Regions from separate parts of the Homo sapiens genome. Here all the other regions are linked to region 3. The links are contacts of gene promoters, found by promoter capture Hi-C in blood cells and fetal thymus (Javierre and others, 2016). All regions are on one chromosome and are shown on one strand. The core of a region is centred on a gene start or on the middle of the fragment in contact, and the rest is flanking DNA. Distances in the headings are between cores, read along the strand shown. Region 1 overlaps LOC105376131 (a long non-coding RNA gene). Region 2 overlaps SYK (spleen associated tyrosine kinase). Region 3 holds the start of CKS2 (CDC28 protein kinase regulatory subunit 2). Region 4 has its middle 18 kb from the start of SYK. Region 5 overlaps LINC02937 (long intergenic non-protein coding RNA 2937).

Region 1 (3,424 bases), core at 379-2,878, 1.3 Mb before region 3:
CTTTTACATGACTAAATTTTACTTATCTTCCCACACATAAGACTGTCGTACAATTATCAAATGCTTTATGAAGCACCATTTTGTGCATAACATCACAGCACAAAGACTAGTATGATTATGGTAATGGGAGTTATTTCACTATTCTCTTCAAGAAATGGTAAAAGGAGACGATAATCTCAATTGATGCAGAAAAAGCATTTGACAAAATTCAACACTCTTTAATGAAGAAAGCACTCAACAAACTATAAATACAAGAAAACCACCTCAACATAATACAGGCCATGCAGGAAAAGCCCACAGTTAACATTACATTCAATGGTGAAAGATTGAAAGCTTTCCCTCTAAGATCAAGAACAAGTCAAGGATCCTCACTTTTGCCGCTTTTATTTTATATAATACTGGAAGTCCTAGCCAAAGCAATTAGAAAAATAAATAAATAAATACATAAATAGGCCGGGCACAGCGGCTCATGCCTGTAATCCCAGCACTTTGGGAGGCTGAGGCAGGTGGATTACCTGAGGTCAGGAGTTCAAGACCAGCCTGGCCAACATGGCGAAACCCCATTTCTACTGAAAATACAAAAATTAGCCGGGCATGGTGGCACGCACCTGTAGTCCCAGCTACTTGGGAGGCTGAGGCAAGAGAATCGCTTGAACCCGGGAGGCGGAGGTTGCAGTGAGCCGAGATCGCACCACTGCACTCCAGCCTGGGTGACAGAGTGAGACTCCGTCTAATAAATAAATAAATGAATGTAGGTAAATAAATAAATAGCATCCAAATTGGAAAGAAAAAACTATCTCTGTCTAGAGACAACATGATAATATATGTAGAAAATCCTAAATATGCCACAAAAAACTGTTAAAACTAATAAACAAGATAAACAGAGTAGCAAGATTCAAAATCAATATGCAAAAATCAATAGTTTCTATATACTAACAATGAGCACTCTGAAACAGAAATTAAGAAAATAATTCCATTTACAATAATATCAAAAAGAATAAAATACTTAGGAGTAAATAAGGAAGCAAAAGACTCATAGGTTGAAAACTAAAAAATGTTGCTGAAAGAAAGACACAAATAAATAGACATCTTGTGTTCATGGACTGAAGGACTTAATATTTTGAATATGTCAATACTACTGAAAACAATTTAAAGGTTTAATGGAATCTCCATGGGATTTCTTTTTTGCAGAATTAGAAAAAAAAATTATTCAGAAACCAATGTGGATTCTCAAGAGGCCCTAAATAGCCAAAACCAATCTTAAAAAAGGAGGAGGTCTTACTCGTCCAGATTTTAAAGCTTACCACAAGCTATAGTAATCAAAAAAGTGTGGTACTGACATAAAGGCAGACAGCCCAATGGAATAGAATGGAGAGCCTAGAAGTAAATCTTCACATACCTGATCAAATGATTTTTAAAAAAATTATGAAGACCATTCAATGGGGAAAGGACAGTCTCTTTAACTAATGATGGTGAGAAAGCTAGAGCTCTACATGCAAGAAAATGAAAAAATTGACCCCTTATATCATATGGAAAAACTAACTCAAAATGGATTAAAGACCCAAATTTACACCAGGTGCACTGGCTTACACCTGTAATCTCAGCACTTTGGGAGGCTGAGGCAGGATCACTTGAGGCCAAGGCCCGCGGATCACTTGAGGTCAGGAGTTCGAGACCAGCCTGGCCAACATGGTGAAACCCTGTCTCTACTGAAAATACAAAAAAATGAGCTGGGCATTGGGGCATATGCCTGTAATCCCAGCTACTCAGGAGGCTGAGGCAGGAGAATCACTTGAAACCAGGAGGTGGAGGTTGCAGTGAGCTGAGGTCACGCCACTGAACTCCAGCGTGGGCAACAGAGGGAGGCTCTGTTTCAAAAAAAAAAAAAAAAAAGAAAACCTAAATGAAAGAGCTAAAACTATAAAACTCTTAGAGGAGAACATAAGGACATAAGGGAAAAGCTTCATAATATTGGGTTTGACAGTGACTTCTTTTTTTTTTTTTAAGACACAGTCTCACTCTGTTGCCAGGCTGGAGTACAATGGCATGATCTCGGCTCACTGCAACCTCTGCCTCCCAGATTCAAGCAATTCTCCTGTATCAGCCTCCCAAGTACCTGGGACTACAGGCGCATGCCACCACGCCCAACTAATTTTTGTATTTTTAGTAGAGACAGGGTTTCACCATGTTGGCCAGGATGGTCTCGATCTCTTGACCTCATGATTTGCCTGCCTCGGCCTCCCAACGTGCTGGGATTACAGGCATGAGCCACCGCACCTGGCCTGACAGTGACTTCTTCATGTAACACTAAAAACATAGGCAACAAATGTAATAATAGCCAGGGTAATTAGGCAAGAGAAAGAAAGGGTATCAAAATTGGAAAGCAGAAAGTCAAATTGTCCCTATTTGCAGATGGCATGATCTTATATATGGAAAAACCTAAAGGTTCTACCAAAAAACTCTTAGAACTGATACATTTAGTTAAGTTTTAGGATACAAAATCAACATATAAGTATCAGTAGTGTTCCTATATTTGAACAATAAACTAGCTGAAAAAGAAAGGCAATCACATTTACAATAGCTACAAAAAATAAAAAATAATAAAATACCTAGGTATAAATCCAACCAGGGAGGTGAAAGACCTCCACAAGGAAACTAAAAAACAGTGATAAAAGAAATGGAAGAGTATACAAATAAATGGAAAGACATCCCATGCTCATGGAGTACAAGAATTAATATTGTTAAAATGACCATACTGTGCCGGGCATGGTGGCTCACACCTGTAATCCCAGCACTTTGGGAGGCCGAAGCAGGTGGATCATCTGAGGTCAGGAGTTTGAGACCAGCCTGGCCAACATGCGAAACCCTGTCTCTACTAAAAATACAGAAAATAGCCGGGCACGGTGGCAGGCAGCTCTAATCCCAGCTACTCGGGAGGCTGAGGCAGGAGAATAGCTTGAACCAGGGAGGCAGAGGTTGCAGTGAGCCGAGATTGCACCATTGCACTCCAGCCTGGGTGACAGAGTGAGACTCTGTCTCAAAAAAAAAAAAAAAAAAAAAAAAAAAAATGACCATACTACCCAAAGCAATCTACAGATTCAATGCAATCCCTATCAAAATGCCAATGACATTCTTCACAGAAATAGAAAAAAAGATTTAAAAACAATGTGGAGACACAAAAGATTCTGAATAGCCAAAGCAATCCTATGCAAAAAGAACGAAACTGAAGGCATCACACTACCTGACTTCAAAATCTACTACAAAGTTGTAGTAACACAAACTGCATAGTACTGACCTTAAAACAGACACGTGGGCCAATGGAACAGAATAGAGAACCCAGAAATTAATCCACATATATATAGCAAACTGATTGTTGACAAAGGCACCAAGAACACTTACTGAGGAAAAGACAATGTCTTCAACA
Region 2 (3,089 bases), core at 537-3,036, 1.5 Mb after region 3:
GGAAAACAGTAGAGAAAAGTCAATAAAACCAATGTTGGTTCTTTGAAATCATCAACCAAATTGATAAACCTTTAACCAAGAAAAAAAAAAGAAAAAAATGTAGAAGATGCAATTTACCAATATCAGAAATGAAGGAAAGGTCATAACTGTTGATCTAATGGATATAAAAAGATGATAAAGGAAGATCATGAACAACTCTGTACTCACAAATGTGGTAACTTAGGTGAAATAAACTAATGCTTGAGTGACACAAACTACTAAAACTTACAGAAGAAATAGGTAGCCTGAATAGCCCTATATCTTTAAAATTTAAATTAATATAACCTTTAAAACAGAAATCATCAGGCCCAGATGGGTCCACTAGTGAATTCTGTCAAACACTTAAGAAAGAAAGAATACCAGTTTTCCATAATCTCTTCCAGAAAATAGAAATGGAGGAAACAGTTTCTAATTCATTTTATGAGTTCAGATTTCACGTAATACCAAAACCAGTTAAGGCATTACAAGAAAACAAAGCAATATTACTTATATATACAAAAACCCTCAACAAAATGTTAGAAAATCAAACCCAACAACGTATGAAAAGAGCTATGTACCACAGCCAAGTGGAATTTATTCCAGGTATGCAAAACAGGTTCAACATTTGAAAATAAATTAATGTGATACATCACATCAATGGGCTAGAGAAGAAAAATCATATGACCATGTTAATGGAGGCAGAAAGGGCATTTGACAAACTCAAAACACTCTTTCATGTCAAAAAAAAAATCTTAAACTAGGAATAGAGGAAAACTTTTGTAACTTGATAAAGAGCATTAAAAAAAAAAACCTACAGGTAACATCATACTTAATGGTGAGAGACTGAACACTGTCCCTCTGATACTGAAAACAAGGTAAGACTGTCCTCTCTTACCACTCTGTTCAACATCCTACTGGGAGCCCTAGCTAGTGCAAGAAAACAAAACAAAACTTATACAGATCAGAAAAGAAGAAATAAGACATCTTTTTTCACAGATAATATGCATGTCCATATGGAGAACTTCAAAGAATCCATAAAACAACTCTAATAACCAATAAGTGAGTCTACAGGATGCTAGATCAATATACAAAAGTCGGTTGCTTTCCTATATACCAGTAGTTAACTATTGAAATTTGAAATAAGAATAATTACCATGTATAATAGCACCAAAAAGACAAAAAAAAAAAAACACAAGAAAATACTTAGGTATAAATCTAACAAAATATGTACAGGATCTGTATGCAGAAAACTACAAAATAATGATGGAAGAATCAAAGAAGATGTAAGTAAATGGAAAAGTAGTCCATGTTCGTACATTGGAAGACTCAATGTTGTTAAAATGTTCATTCTGCCAAGCTTGATCTGTAGATTCAACCCAATCCCAATCAAAATCCCAGCAAGCTGTTTTGTAGCTAATGATGAAATGATTCTGAACTTTACTTGGGAAGGTAAAAGATCTAGAATACCCAACACAATACCCACTAAAAAGGACAAAGTTGGAGGACTCACACTACTCAATTTCAAGTCTTACTAGAAACAGATACAATTTCTGCCCTTATGGGACAAACAGACATTCATCAAAAATTCACATGCTAGAAAGTAAAGGTAAATTAAGTCAAAACAGTGGTCAGTGGTACAAAAGGAAAGCATGTTAGTTTTGACTGTGGGGACAGGGACATGTTTATCCTGAGCTCAAAGGGTAGCCTGGACAGTGGAGGATTTTTAGCAGAGAAAAGGGCCACAGCTTAGAACATGTAGGAAGGGAGCAAGGTGGGGGCACTGACAGCCAGAGCTACTCAAAAGAGATGTGGAGGAAAAGGATGTTATGTGGTTTTGGAGACAAGTAGGCATGTGTGGGAGGCTGAGACGTGAGATGGGAGGGATTGGCAAGGGGTTGACTTTCAGCAGTGTAGAGAAGGGAATGATCTAAGAGAGCTTGGATTTTCATCTTCATAAATGGATGGAGCTCTTGGGCCAAGGTTCTCAAACTTGAGCCTTTAAAATACAAAACCTAGAGCTTCACCCCAGAGTTTCTGATTTGGCAGGTCAGGGTGGAACCCTAAGAATTTTCATATCCTCCATGTTTCCTGGTGATGCTGACATTGCTGGTCCAGAGACGCACATTGAGAACCCAGCTCCAGGGAACAAGAAGGAGCTCCAAGTTAGGCAGGAAAGCCCCAAGCTTACATTTGGATGGGTTGACTATGAGGGCCTTTGCACTGCCACCTGAAGATGGTAGCTAAGAGAAGAGGCAGGCTTCAAATATTGGCTCCACCACATACTGTGTGTTCTTCAGCAAGCCAGTTGACCCTCCTGAGGCTCGATGACCAGGTCTGTGAATTGAGGATAACAATAGTATCTACCATTAGGGATGTTGTGCACATCAGTTGATAACCTTTGAGTCAAGTACTCATGGAATAGCTGTTTTGCATTATCCTCATCACCTTCATCATCATGGCCATTCTGGCCAGCACTAAAGATGTACAGCCAACCTCTTCTGTGGCTGAAGTTTATCTTCTATAAAATGAGAACTTGTTTTTCATGAAGCTGTCATTTTCACAAGTTTGGGGTGCAGGTGCAGATTGCCTACTGTTGTGTTTCTGAACACTTCCCTCGCGAGGCTCCTAACCCCACCCCAGTAAACTCATCAACATGACTCCTTCCAGCTTCTACAGCTCTGGAGAGGGTTCCTTTTTATCTTGCGTTTCCAGGGATGTTTCACGGCCTTTTGTGGAGTGGGCCCTGGCTGAGCTTCTGGCCCTTCTTGAGTGTGGAGGATGTCACAGACTGCAGTGGGAAATTAAAAAGCTGCTTGCTTCACAGAGTAAGGGAATGTTAGTAGATGCTTGAAAAGTACCCTGAGGGAGCTGGTCAGAGGTGCTCTGTAAAGTTGCATCTGTTGCTAGCACCATGAGCAGCTGTCTGACCAGGAGGCCTGGGAACAGGGACAGAGAGAGCTGGCACCCTTCTTTCCTCTGCCCTACACATTGGCCTTTCCGCCATTAAGACCATCTCTGCTTGACTTTTTCAGTCTCCTGGCTGGCAATTAGCATCTTGAGGTCTCCATTAA
Region 3 (3,062 bases), core at 192-2,691:
TTAGATGGTCATGAGGGTGGGGCCCTCACCCATGGAGATTATAAATGTCCTTAGCCGGCCTGTCTCACTTGTTCAGAAACCGGAAAAGTCCGTGGTCTGCAGTGTGGAAAAGGGCACCCGGACCTCTTACTTCCAGCCTCTAGTCTGGAAACTTTGTCTAAGGTACCCCATCTACATTACTTAGTCACAGCCACCCTGAACCCACTAGCCTGTACTGCGCTGGAGCATTTCGCATAAAATGAAATTAACATAAAAATGACACGTGCTCGTTGTGGAAAAAATACCAAAAAGATCACTTTTAATTCTGTCATCTAAAAATAACCACCAGTTACATTTATAAATTTCTTCCAGTAACTTTTTTATATGAACATGTTTTTAAACTTGGGTCAATATTAAAAGACCAGAAGTTGTTAAACATCATTTTAAATCCCCTTATCCAGGAATTAGCATTGTTATTCTTGGCCGCAGCAGAATATTATTTTATTCCCTCAAGCTTTCCATGGCTTGGGTCTGCCCTGGTTTTGAACATTAGGTTAGGCTACAGAAAGCATTCTGGGTCTCTGGCCCATTTGTTTCTTTCTTTGTGGAGACGGGGTCTGGCTCTGTTGCTCAGGCCTGTCTGGAACTCCTGGGCTCAAGCGACACTCCACCTCGGCCTCCCGAGTGGCTGGGACCACTGGCGCCCGCCGCCACCGCGCCGGCTCCGGGCCTCTCTCTACGCGTGGCTCCGCAGGCTCCATTCTCCACACAGTCGTCTAGGGGGGCGCCAGGAGCCCCGCGACGGGCCAGGCCGGAAGCTCAGCAAGTGCACCAGGCGGCGAAACGGCCGGCTGCGCAGGGCAGCCCCGGACACAGCCACGCCGCGGCCGCCCGGCGCTCCCCCGACCCAGCCGACCACGAAGCCGCCCTCCCCCTCACACCGCAGAACCTTTCTGCCTTTTACTACTTTTCAAAGTGGACCTAGGCTCCTGGCTCGAGCCTGAGGGGATACAAGGGATCACGAGGAGCGCCATCACCGTGCAAGGTCGACAGCTTCCGCTCAAAGCCCTGTGGCCCACGCTTCCGGCCTCGACCGACTACGTCATCACCAAACCCCGTGATACCTCACTCCACCTTCAGGTCCTCCGTCCCAACGGTTCCGTGTCCTGGAACTTTCCACGTTCCTGCGCACGCGCTCTGCGGCCCTTAACGTCCCGACTTCGCCCTCCTCTGGCCACGCCCCTGCCCGTTAAGGGCCCTGCCACCCCCGTGACGTACCTATCTTCCCTCGGGCAACCTCGCAACAGATCTCTGATTGGCTGACCCAGGAAGCGGACTTTGCGAGGCGGCGGCGACGATAGGCTGGCAGCCGGCCGACTTCCGCAGAAGGTGATTGGTCGGCGCTGCTGTCCAATCGGCGGCGGGCTGTCGGATTCAAATCCGGATCGTTGGGACTGCGGTCGTTAGTCTCCGGCGAGTTGTTGCCTGGGCTGGACGTGGTTTTGTCTGCTGCGCCCGCTCTTCGCGCTCTCGTTTCATTTTCTGCAGCGCGCCAGCAGGATGGCCCACAAGCAGATCTACTACTCGGACAAGTACTTCGACGAACACTACGAGTACCGGTGGGCGCCTTTCTTAGACCCCGAGCCGGCTCCCTCAGCCGGGGCCCCCGCGGGCGGGGCGACCCAGGCATAGTAGGGTCGGGGGTGGGGGCCGGGGCCTGGGGGGCGGAGCCCGGGGCCGGAGGGCGAGGGCCGGGGTTTGGGGTCGCGGCCACCTGGCGCCCCGCGCAGTCGGACATGGTTGGGTGCCTGGCCGCGCCGGGCCGGTTGGGCCTTTGTTCGGTGTGCGCGGAGGGTGAGGGAAGAGTGCCCACCGGGCCGCATTTAGTACCTGGGTAGGAACCGGCGCAACTTGGGGGTCATGGGGTCCTCGGCGACGCGGAGTGACCATCCCGTCACTTTTTTCTCGGCCGTGGCCGAAGTAATTAGGCCGTTCAGTAGCTGGTCTCAGTTCCAGTTCTTTGAACCAGTCCAGGAAAACCCACCTGGTGCCGTCCTTTTTCCTTTAGCAACCGTGACACACTTTCCCTGTCGCTGACGGGGTGATGCAGCTTTTACTAGTTTGTGGTTTAGAATGGTCAAATGGTCATTTTCATCTGTTAACACAGAGGAACACTTTTCTTTTTCTTGTTTTTGAAGTGAGTGGTATAAGAATAAGCTTTGGAGGCGACCCCCCGAAAAATGAGCTTGATGGGGATTCGAAAATGTTTACTGGGTATGGTGATTTGGGCCATTATAGGTTAGCCGCAGTCATACAATTGAGGGTATTATTAAAGGAGTTTCATTTTAAGGCCGATTAAGAACTTGAGTGGACTTTGGGCATCATTTTCTGCTAGTATACACTGGCCAAATTTTGGGCTTTGAGAAACTTTTGCGTTTGAGTCCTGAAGCACCGTACTAGAACATGGTGGCTGTAATCGATCAGTAAAATTAGACAAATTTTAAATGTCCCTGTCCCCTTCCCCCCAATTAAAGTAGATTGGGGGAAAGCGAGTAGGGACATTTAAAATTTGTTGTCCTTACTGTATGCGGGACACTTCATTTAGGGCGTGGCTTCAGAAAACAGTCAACCCCTTTTTCTTAACTAGGTAGCGACTAGAACGCTGCGTTCTGGGATACTACCAAGATTTAGGGGAGATAAAGCCCATGCCATCGTTGGCCAAATTGTGACCTTGTTTTCTGTCTGCTGCCTTTGTAGGTTAGATTTCTCCGAATGCTATTTAAGGAAGAAAGAACAAAACAGTGGGTGGTTTCTCTTTTTCTCCCCCTCCCTAGTAGCATGGAAGTCTGTTTTCACATGAGGACTACTGAATATTTCTATGGGTAGTAGTAATTGCACCCTTTTGTATTCCTAGCTAGAAAAATAGCATGTTTTTCTGGCTGTAGGTAAATTTCAAGTAGATTGTGTTAACCTTATAGTAATAATAAACTATACTCGTGTAATATGCTGGCAGTGTTCAATTATGCGATGTTAATCAAGAGCCCTATTGAGGATATCCAATAATGAACACAATGTAAACCGTA
Region 4 (3,386 bases), core at 4-2,503, 1.5 Mb after region 3:
CTTCTAAGAGAAGTTACTATTTATTCCTAATTAGACGGGGAGGAAAGTCTTTGAAGAGGAACCTCTACTTTACTTTTTACAGTTGGCCATAGAGACTCTTTTCAAGTTGACTTTGCTGGAGCTTCACCTAATAATGTTATTCTAGTCAAAGCCTTGGTATAATAACCAGCACCTGCAATTGTGTCCTGTTTCAAAAGAAAGGGCTCTTATTAAACATGCCTTTACATATCACATATTTATCAGTTTACTGTTGATTGCCTATCTGCCTGCTAAACTGTTTGCTTCTGCAAAATAGAGACCTTGCCTGTCCTGCACCCCCAGAGCTTAGGCCTGCATAATGCTCAGTAGACATTGCATATATAATAGATGTTGGAAGAAGATGCAGTTGGCAGAGAGATGTAAGGACAATTTCTCATTGTTTTGTCAACATAAAGTATGTATGTTTTATATTGGAAAGCTGAGATCTTGAAAAAACTGTATACAAAAATTTTTGCAGGTATGTCTCTGTTTCTCCATATTGAGCTTCCACTTTTGATGATTGTAGAAATGTGCTGTAGAATGGATTAGACCATGTTTTTTTGTTTGTTTGTTTGTTTGTTTTGAGATGGAGTTTCGCTCTTGTTGCCCAGGCTAGCGTGCAATGGCACAGTCTCCACTCACCACAACCTCCACCTCCTGGGTTCAAGCGATTCTCCTGCCTCAGCCTCCCGAGTAGCTGGGATTACAGATATGTACCACCACACCCGGCTAATTTTGTATTTTTAGTAGAGACGAGATTTCTCTATGTTGGTCAGGCTGGTCTCAAACTCTTGACCTCAGGTGATCTGCCCACCTCAGCCTCCCAAAGTGCTGAGATTACAGGTGTGAGCCACTGCACCCAGCCAATTACACAGTGTTTTAAAGACAAATAAATATGTGAATTTTGTATTAAAGTTCAGCTGCTCTTCACCTAAGAAATATTCATCAAGTAAGAAGTATCTGGCTTGGGTAATTGTTAACTAAAGAATCATGAGATTCATAAATTTGGAGAGGAGAGTGTTATTTCTTATAAAGGCTTGCATCCAGCAGGCTGCCCACTGTGCAGGCTGGGAAGCATAGCTTCTGGTAGAAACCAAAAGCAGGCACTTTGAAAGAGGGAAAGGTGAGACAGAAATTTGGGCTGAATGGGCTAGCTAAGTATACATATTCAATAGTTATAGGAAGGGCTGAGAATAATTATGAAGGGGGTGCACACATTCATAGCAAGCAAACATCCATGTTACATTCATCTCATATTCATTTGGGGTGAAGACTTACATTTAATTGCATTATAATTTCACTCTGTATGTCACAAAGTGAAAGCAAGGACACAGGGGCATGTTGTCTGCAGCCTGTGAATACCTGCCAGAGCCAGTCTACGGCCAGTGGTCTTTTATCAGGAAGGAATGCCAGTCAGTTGTTGTGTAAATCAGAGGTGAAGCGAGTCTTTCAAAAGAGCTGGTTTCTGTCTGTTAGAGAAGGAAGATTGATGGCAGTAAGGGAGGTGGCATAACAAGGCGTGTCCCACCTCCTGTGTGCCTGGCATGGCTGGCAACTCAGTTTTTAAGGCTTCTCTGAGGCTCCTTGGACAAAGAGGGAGTCCATTCAGTTAGTTAGGGGACTTAGAATTTTATTTTTATTTCTCAGAATTTATCTAGGAAAGTTAGATGGTAGATCGTAAAGGTGCAGAATGTCATGTTAATTTGGCTTGCTATCGAGATGTATCAGAGTACAACAATAACAGTGTTATCAGCTGTATACTAAAAACATCCTTGGTCAGCAATATCTCAGACATTTTCCAAGGACAAAAGTATTAAATTTCATAAAGAAATAGCACGCTTTCAAATAACACTCCCAGGGCTTGACACGTGTATAAGAAAATCTAATTCCCAGGCACATTTCCCAGTAAGGCCATGAAAATAGCCGCGGAATGTGAAATATACACGTGACTGCCATCCTAATTTGGATGTTTCTTTAACACCCACAAGAAGGATGATAACTTCTCTCCCCCTAGCTCCTATTACGCCACTCCAATATGCACCCTGGACCTCAAAGATCATTTCTCTTTCCTGCATCCAGATAAAAGGTCACGATTCCTGGTGCCTGGTGTGCTCTGGACCACAGTGTATTTCCCAAGGTAGTCACGACCCCTTTAATGGACCACAGTGTATTTCCCAAGGTAGTCACGACCCCTTTAATGGCAGACTCTGCCTGCAGACTGCTGGTGCTGAGAGGGTGCTGGTGCTTGTGCACATAGCAAGAAGTGAAATAGAAATGACTGAGTTTGTTTTGTGCAGCATCACCACTGTTCTCGTAAAGAATGAACTATATAAGCACATAAGAACTACAAAGTGCAAATTGTGTAATTTTGGTGATTCCGCATACGAGTCCAATGTTTTTATGTTTACATTTAAAACTGGCATAACAAATTCTATGTAAAGATAAATGGTAAAGTCCGTATTAATAATTTATAATTTCTATTTTTATTTAGTTAGAATGACATTCAATAGCAAATTTAAAAAAACACTGACATCTTGAAAGAGACAACAGAAGAGAAAAAAGGTTTTATATTTTAATACCTTTAATGGCCATTTTATTTTGCTTTTTGAACCAGGATCCATTTTTTATTTTGTACTGGGCCCCACAGATTATGAAGTTGGCCCTAGGCACAACCTCACACCACTACCTGTTCTGGTTAGCTATTACTAGGTAAGCTATGTAACATATTACCCCAAAACCTGGTGCCTTGAAACAACAATCATTCTTAAATATCTCACGATTTTGTGACTCAGAAGCTCAGGCGGAGCTCAGCTAGGTGATTCTTCTGCTTCACATGGCATTAACTAGGCACTCAGCTGGCTTTCAGGCTGTTAACACAGCCTTGGCAAAGATTGGGGAAGACTGGGCTCAGCTTTGCACCTCCAACTCTGCCCCACCCTTTGGCCTCTCCAGCAATCTTTGGAGTTCTTACATGGCAGTTCAGGGTTCCAAGAGACCAAGACCTAAGCTGTCCATCCTCTAAAAGGCTAGGCTTAAAATAAAAATGCCGTCACTTCTGCCACACTCTCTTGGTCAAAGCAGTAATAGGGCAGCCCAGATGCAAGAGGGAGAGTCTATTACACATCAGGAAACCAAGGCCCAGAGAGGCTCAGTAACTTGCACAAAGTCACACAGCTAGTAGGTTATAAACTTGGGAGTTGAACCAAATCTGGCTCCACGGTCAGTGCTGTAGGCCACTTTGCCATGCTGGTAATAGTAGTCTCCAAACACCTAAACTGTGTGACAATAAAGGACAAAGTCTTAACTTCAGAAAGCAGCTTTAACCCACACACACAAAGAGAGAGAGAGAGATGTCTTAGGAAGTAAAA
Region 5 (3,168 bases), core at 557-3,056, 1.8 Mb after region 3:
AATTTCCCTTTGTGAAGGGGTCCCCCTCTGCCAGGAAAAGGAGACAATGCTTATCCCTTGACATGATACTGGCTTCAATCTGCATAAACAAACTTACTAAATAAACCTTATCTTCCATTAGTTTTCCCCCACATATTTGACATTCCACGGTTTATCACCACTAGAATTTCAAATCCTTTGTCTTTGCCTTGTCATTTTGCCACAAGTTTACAGTCTTTGTTAAAATGGTATATGAGTTCTCAGTCATAACTCTTTCTTTGGGTTTTCACTTTCTGTAAGATACTTGTTTACATGTAAAAATTTTTTAAAAAATGTTTTTGAGACAGACTCTCACTCTTTGAGATGGAATCTCCCTCTATTGCCCAGGCTGGAGTGCAGTGGTGCAATCTTGGCTCAGTGCAACCTCCGCCTCCTGGGTTCAAGCGATTCACCTGCCTCAGCCTCCCAAGGAGTTGGGATTACAGGCATGTGCCACCACGCCTGGCTAATTTTGTATTATTATTATTATTTTTTTAAGTACAGACGAGGTTTCTCCATGTTGGTCAGGCTAGTCTCGAACTCCTGACCTCAGGTCATCTGCCCACCTTGGCCTCCCAAACTGCTGGGATTACAGGCATGAGCCACCATGCCTGGCTGACTCTCGCTCTTTTGCCCAGGCTTGGAGTGCAGTGGGTGCGATCTCAGCTCACTGCAACCTTCGCCTCCTGGCTTCAAGCGATTCTCCTACCTCAGGGCTTCAAGCGATTCTCCTGCCTCAGCCTGCTGAGTAGCTAGGATTACAGGTGTGCACCACCATGCCCAGCTAATTTTGTATTTTTAGTAGAGACGGGGTTTCGCCATGTTGGCCAGGTTGATCTCAAACTACTGGCCTCAAGTGATCTGCCTGCCTCAGTCTCCCAAAGTGCTGGGATTACAGGCATGAGCCACCATGCCCAGCCCAAAAATTAAGATATTAACATCAAATACAATTTGTATACTTTTTCTCCTGTTAATCTGTCCTTTGTTAGTTTAATTTGCAGGCCACAGTCACTAAACCTAAAAGGGCGGAAGAAACATTCTTTCTTCCCTGCTTTCCAACATTGTGTCTGGACTAAGCCTGAGACCCACTTTAGTCAACAGTGTATCAGGTGACTCTGTGCCTGTTCTGGGCCTAACTTGTAGAGCTTGGCAATGTTTGTTCTTGTGCTCTTGGGAGTCCTGAACCACCATGTAAGACAGGGGTTGGCAAACTATGGCCCATGGGCCAAATCCAGCCCACTGTCTATTTTTGTAAATAAAGCTTTATTGCAGCAGAGCAATGTCCATCTGTTTATGGGCATTTATGGCTACCTTTGCATTACAATGGTAGAGTTGAGTACTTGTGACATAGACTATATGGTCAAAGAGTCTAAAATATTTGGTCTTGTACTGAAAAGTTTGCTGACCCCTGATTTTAAAAGACCATCGACCTGCTGGAGAGACTACATGGAGAAGTCCTGAGGCCACAAGGAGAAAGAGAGAGGCTCAGCTGTCCATGTTCCATTTCCTAGTCCCAGGGCCAGGTGATTCAGCCCTATTACCAGTCATTGCCAATAGGAGAGACCCCAAAGGAGGTCAGCAGAAGAACCATCCTGCTGACCCCAGGCAATCTGAAGAACTGGAATAATAAAATGGTAGCTCTATGCTGCTGCATTTTGGATGGTTTATTACACAGCAGCAGATAATTGGAACCCACTCCCTCCCCACCTCCAAACAAAAATATTGGGCTGTGACTGTGAAGACGAACCAAAAACAAACAAACAAAAAAACAAGCACCATTGAAGATGAGTTACAAAACCATGACTGAATTAGTTCCCAAAGCTGTCTAATAGCACCACGTAACTGCTTGCAGAGTTTTTCTGAAGAAATACCATAACTCATCATGAAACCAGCTATTAAACCACAAAACTTCTGTTTCCTTCACCTTGTACGTCACCCCTACTCTCTGCAACAGTTTGACCGCATTTTAGTTTGTGGGTTTTTGCCTTTTAAATGAATCTTATCATTATGAACACTGAGTACCCAAATAGTCCCCCAGGGCAGGAACTTCTCGTCTCTCTGAACACAGAATGTCCACTTGTGTGTTCTTTCAGATGCAGGGTCTTCTTGCCCTGAATTTCTAGAATGTGTTCTTAAAGAAACATACCTATTATTTCAAAGTATCTCAATTTTTTGAGAGACAAGGAGCACTATGAATCCAGCTCATGGTGTTAATGGCTTTCTCATCATAAATCCATCAGCTATATTAGTTCTTTAGAGAAAGTAAAAATCAGAACAAGGTCTATTTGTCATATTTCCTTAACCACATCTGGAGAGAAGCTTCAAGTGAGTAAATCCAACATATGATTGTGATTCTGGGAGCATCGTTGTTTCTGTTTTCATGAAGTTTTCTCTAAGGAATGAGTTAAGGAATGAGTTAGTTCTTTTGGGGAAAAAAAAATAGTGTGCCTCCCCCCCACTGCCCACCATCTGCACACCCACTCTCGGAAATGTTGCCTGCCCATATTTACCTGCTCACCAAGCTGTTCCCTATTCTAGAAGTTTCCACTCTCCCTTGAGTATAAAAGCTTCAACCCTGGTTCAGTGGGTGGTAGCTGCACCATGGTCTGGGGAAATCAGCACTTTTTCGTGGGTGTTGCTGCCCAGGGACCAAAGGGGACTTGAGGATAATCAAGCCAGCTCTGCAAGTCTCCAACCACACAAGGGGACTGAGCTCCCACCACATCCCTCAACCTCCCGCCGCCATCTTGCTTTCCCACTCCCTGCCTCCCACACAGCTCAGCTGCCTTTTGCTGCCCTTTGCTGCCCTTTACTGCCCCTTGCACTCCCCAGCAAACCTCCTCCATCCTCTCCACTGCGTCTCCTCCCTCCCTTCCTCCCCTCTGTCACCCCAATGGCCCAGGGAGAGCACAGGACAACATGGAGTGAGGAAAGGGAGGAGCTCAGCCAGCTAACCATCCCTGCCCACCACATGTGAATTAGACAGGCTTCTCCAGAGACAGAGCCAACAGGGTATGTACACAGGAAGAAATTTATCTGAGGAATTGGCTCACACAGTTATGGAGGCTGACAAGCCCTGAGATCTGCCATCTGCAAACTGGAGACCCAAGAAAGCCAGTGTTACAATTCACTCCTGTTCCAACAGCCTGA

What was found. The method cuts DNA at HindIII sites, captures the fragments that hold promoters and counts their contacts. A CHiCAGO score of 5 or more calls a contact.
Region 1: a contact is called between a fragment that was not itself captured here and the fragment with the promoter of CKS2 in region 3, in 1 of 17 cell types (monocytes). The highest score is 8.4, in monocytes.
Region 2: a fragment that was not itself captured here is called in contact with the fragment with the promoter of CKS2 in region 3 in 4 of 17 cell types (total B cells, naive B cells, megakaryocytes and 1 more); the score reaches 10.8 in total B cells.
Region 4: a contact is called between a fragment that was not itself captured here and the fragment with the promoter of CKS2 in region 3, in 2 of 17 cell types (neutrophils and total B cells). The highest score is 6.1, in neutrophils.
Region 5: a contact is called between a fragment that was not itself captured here and the fragment with the promoter of CKS2 in region 3, in 1 of 17 cell types (naive CD8 T cells). The highest score is 8.2, in naive CD8 T cells.

The regions. Positions count from the first base shown.
Region 1 is chr9:87,977,842-87,981,265 of GRCh38, forward strand. The region is part of intron 1 of LOC105376131 (a long non-coding RNA gene); the gene reads left to right. Among named protein-coding and RNA genes, the nearest start is that of CDK20, 5.0 kb to the left of the region's middle. The HindIII fragment of the contact is 662 bases long and covers 1,298-1,959 here.
Region 2 is chr9:90,823,925-90,827,013 of GRCh38, forward strand. All of the region lies in intron 1 of SYK (spleen associated tyrosine kinase), which reads left to right. Among named protein-coding and RNA genes, the nearest start is that of SYK, 24 kb to the left of the region's middle. The HindIII fragment of the contact is 826 bases long and covers 1,374-2,199 here.
Region 3 is chr9:89,309,754-89,312,815 of GRCh38, forward strand. CKS2 (CDC28 protein kinase regulatory subunit 2) reads left to right here and starts at 1,442. Exons shown (of 3, transcript NM_001827.3): 1 at 1,442-1,598. The coding sequence starts at 1,540. MIR3153 (microRNA 3153) reads left to right here and starts at 2,472; the gene lies at 2,472-2,553. It overlaps LOC105376136 (a long non-coding RNA gene), which reads right to left and starts at 1,049. Exons shown (of 3, transcript XR_930101.4): 1 at 1-1,049. RefSeq lists a silencer at 748-977 and enhancers at 988-1,277, 1,948-1,997. The HindIII fragment of the contact is 1,703 bases long and covers 492-2,194 here.
Region 4 is chr9:90,782,300-90,785,685 of GRCh38, forward strand. No RefSeq gene overlaps it. Among named protein-coding and RNA genes, the nearest start is that of SYK, 18 kb to the right of the region's middle. The HindIII fragment of the contact is 5,045 bases long and covers 1-3,386 here.
Region 5 is chr9:91,149,230-91,152,397 of GRCh38, forward strand. The region is part of intron 1 of LINC02937 (long intergenic non-protein coding RNA 2937); the gene reads right to left. All of the region lies in intron 2 of LINC00484 (long intergenic non-protein coding RNA 484), which reads left to right. Among named protein-coding and RNA genes, the nearest start is that of LINC02937, 12 kb to the right of the region's middle. The HindIII fragment of the contact is 1,058 bases long and covers 1,278-2,335 here.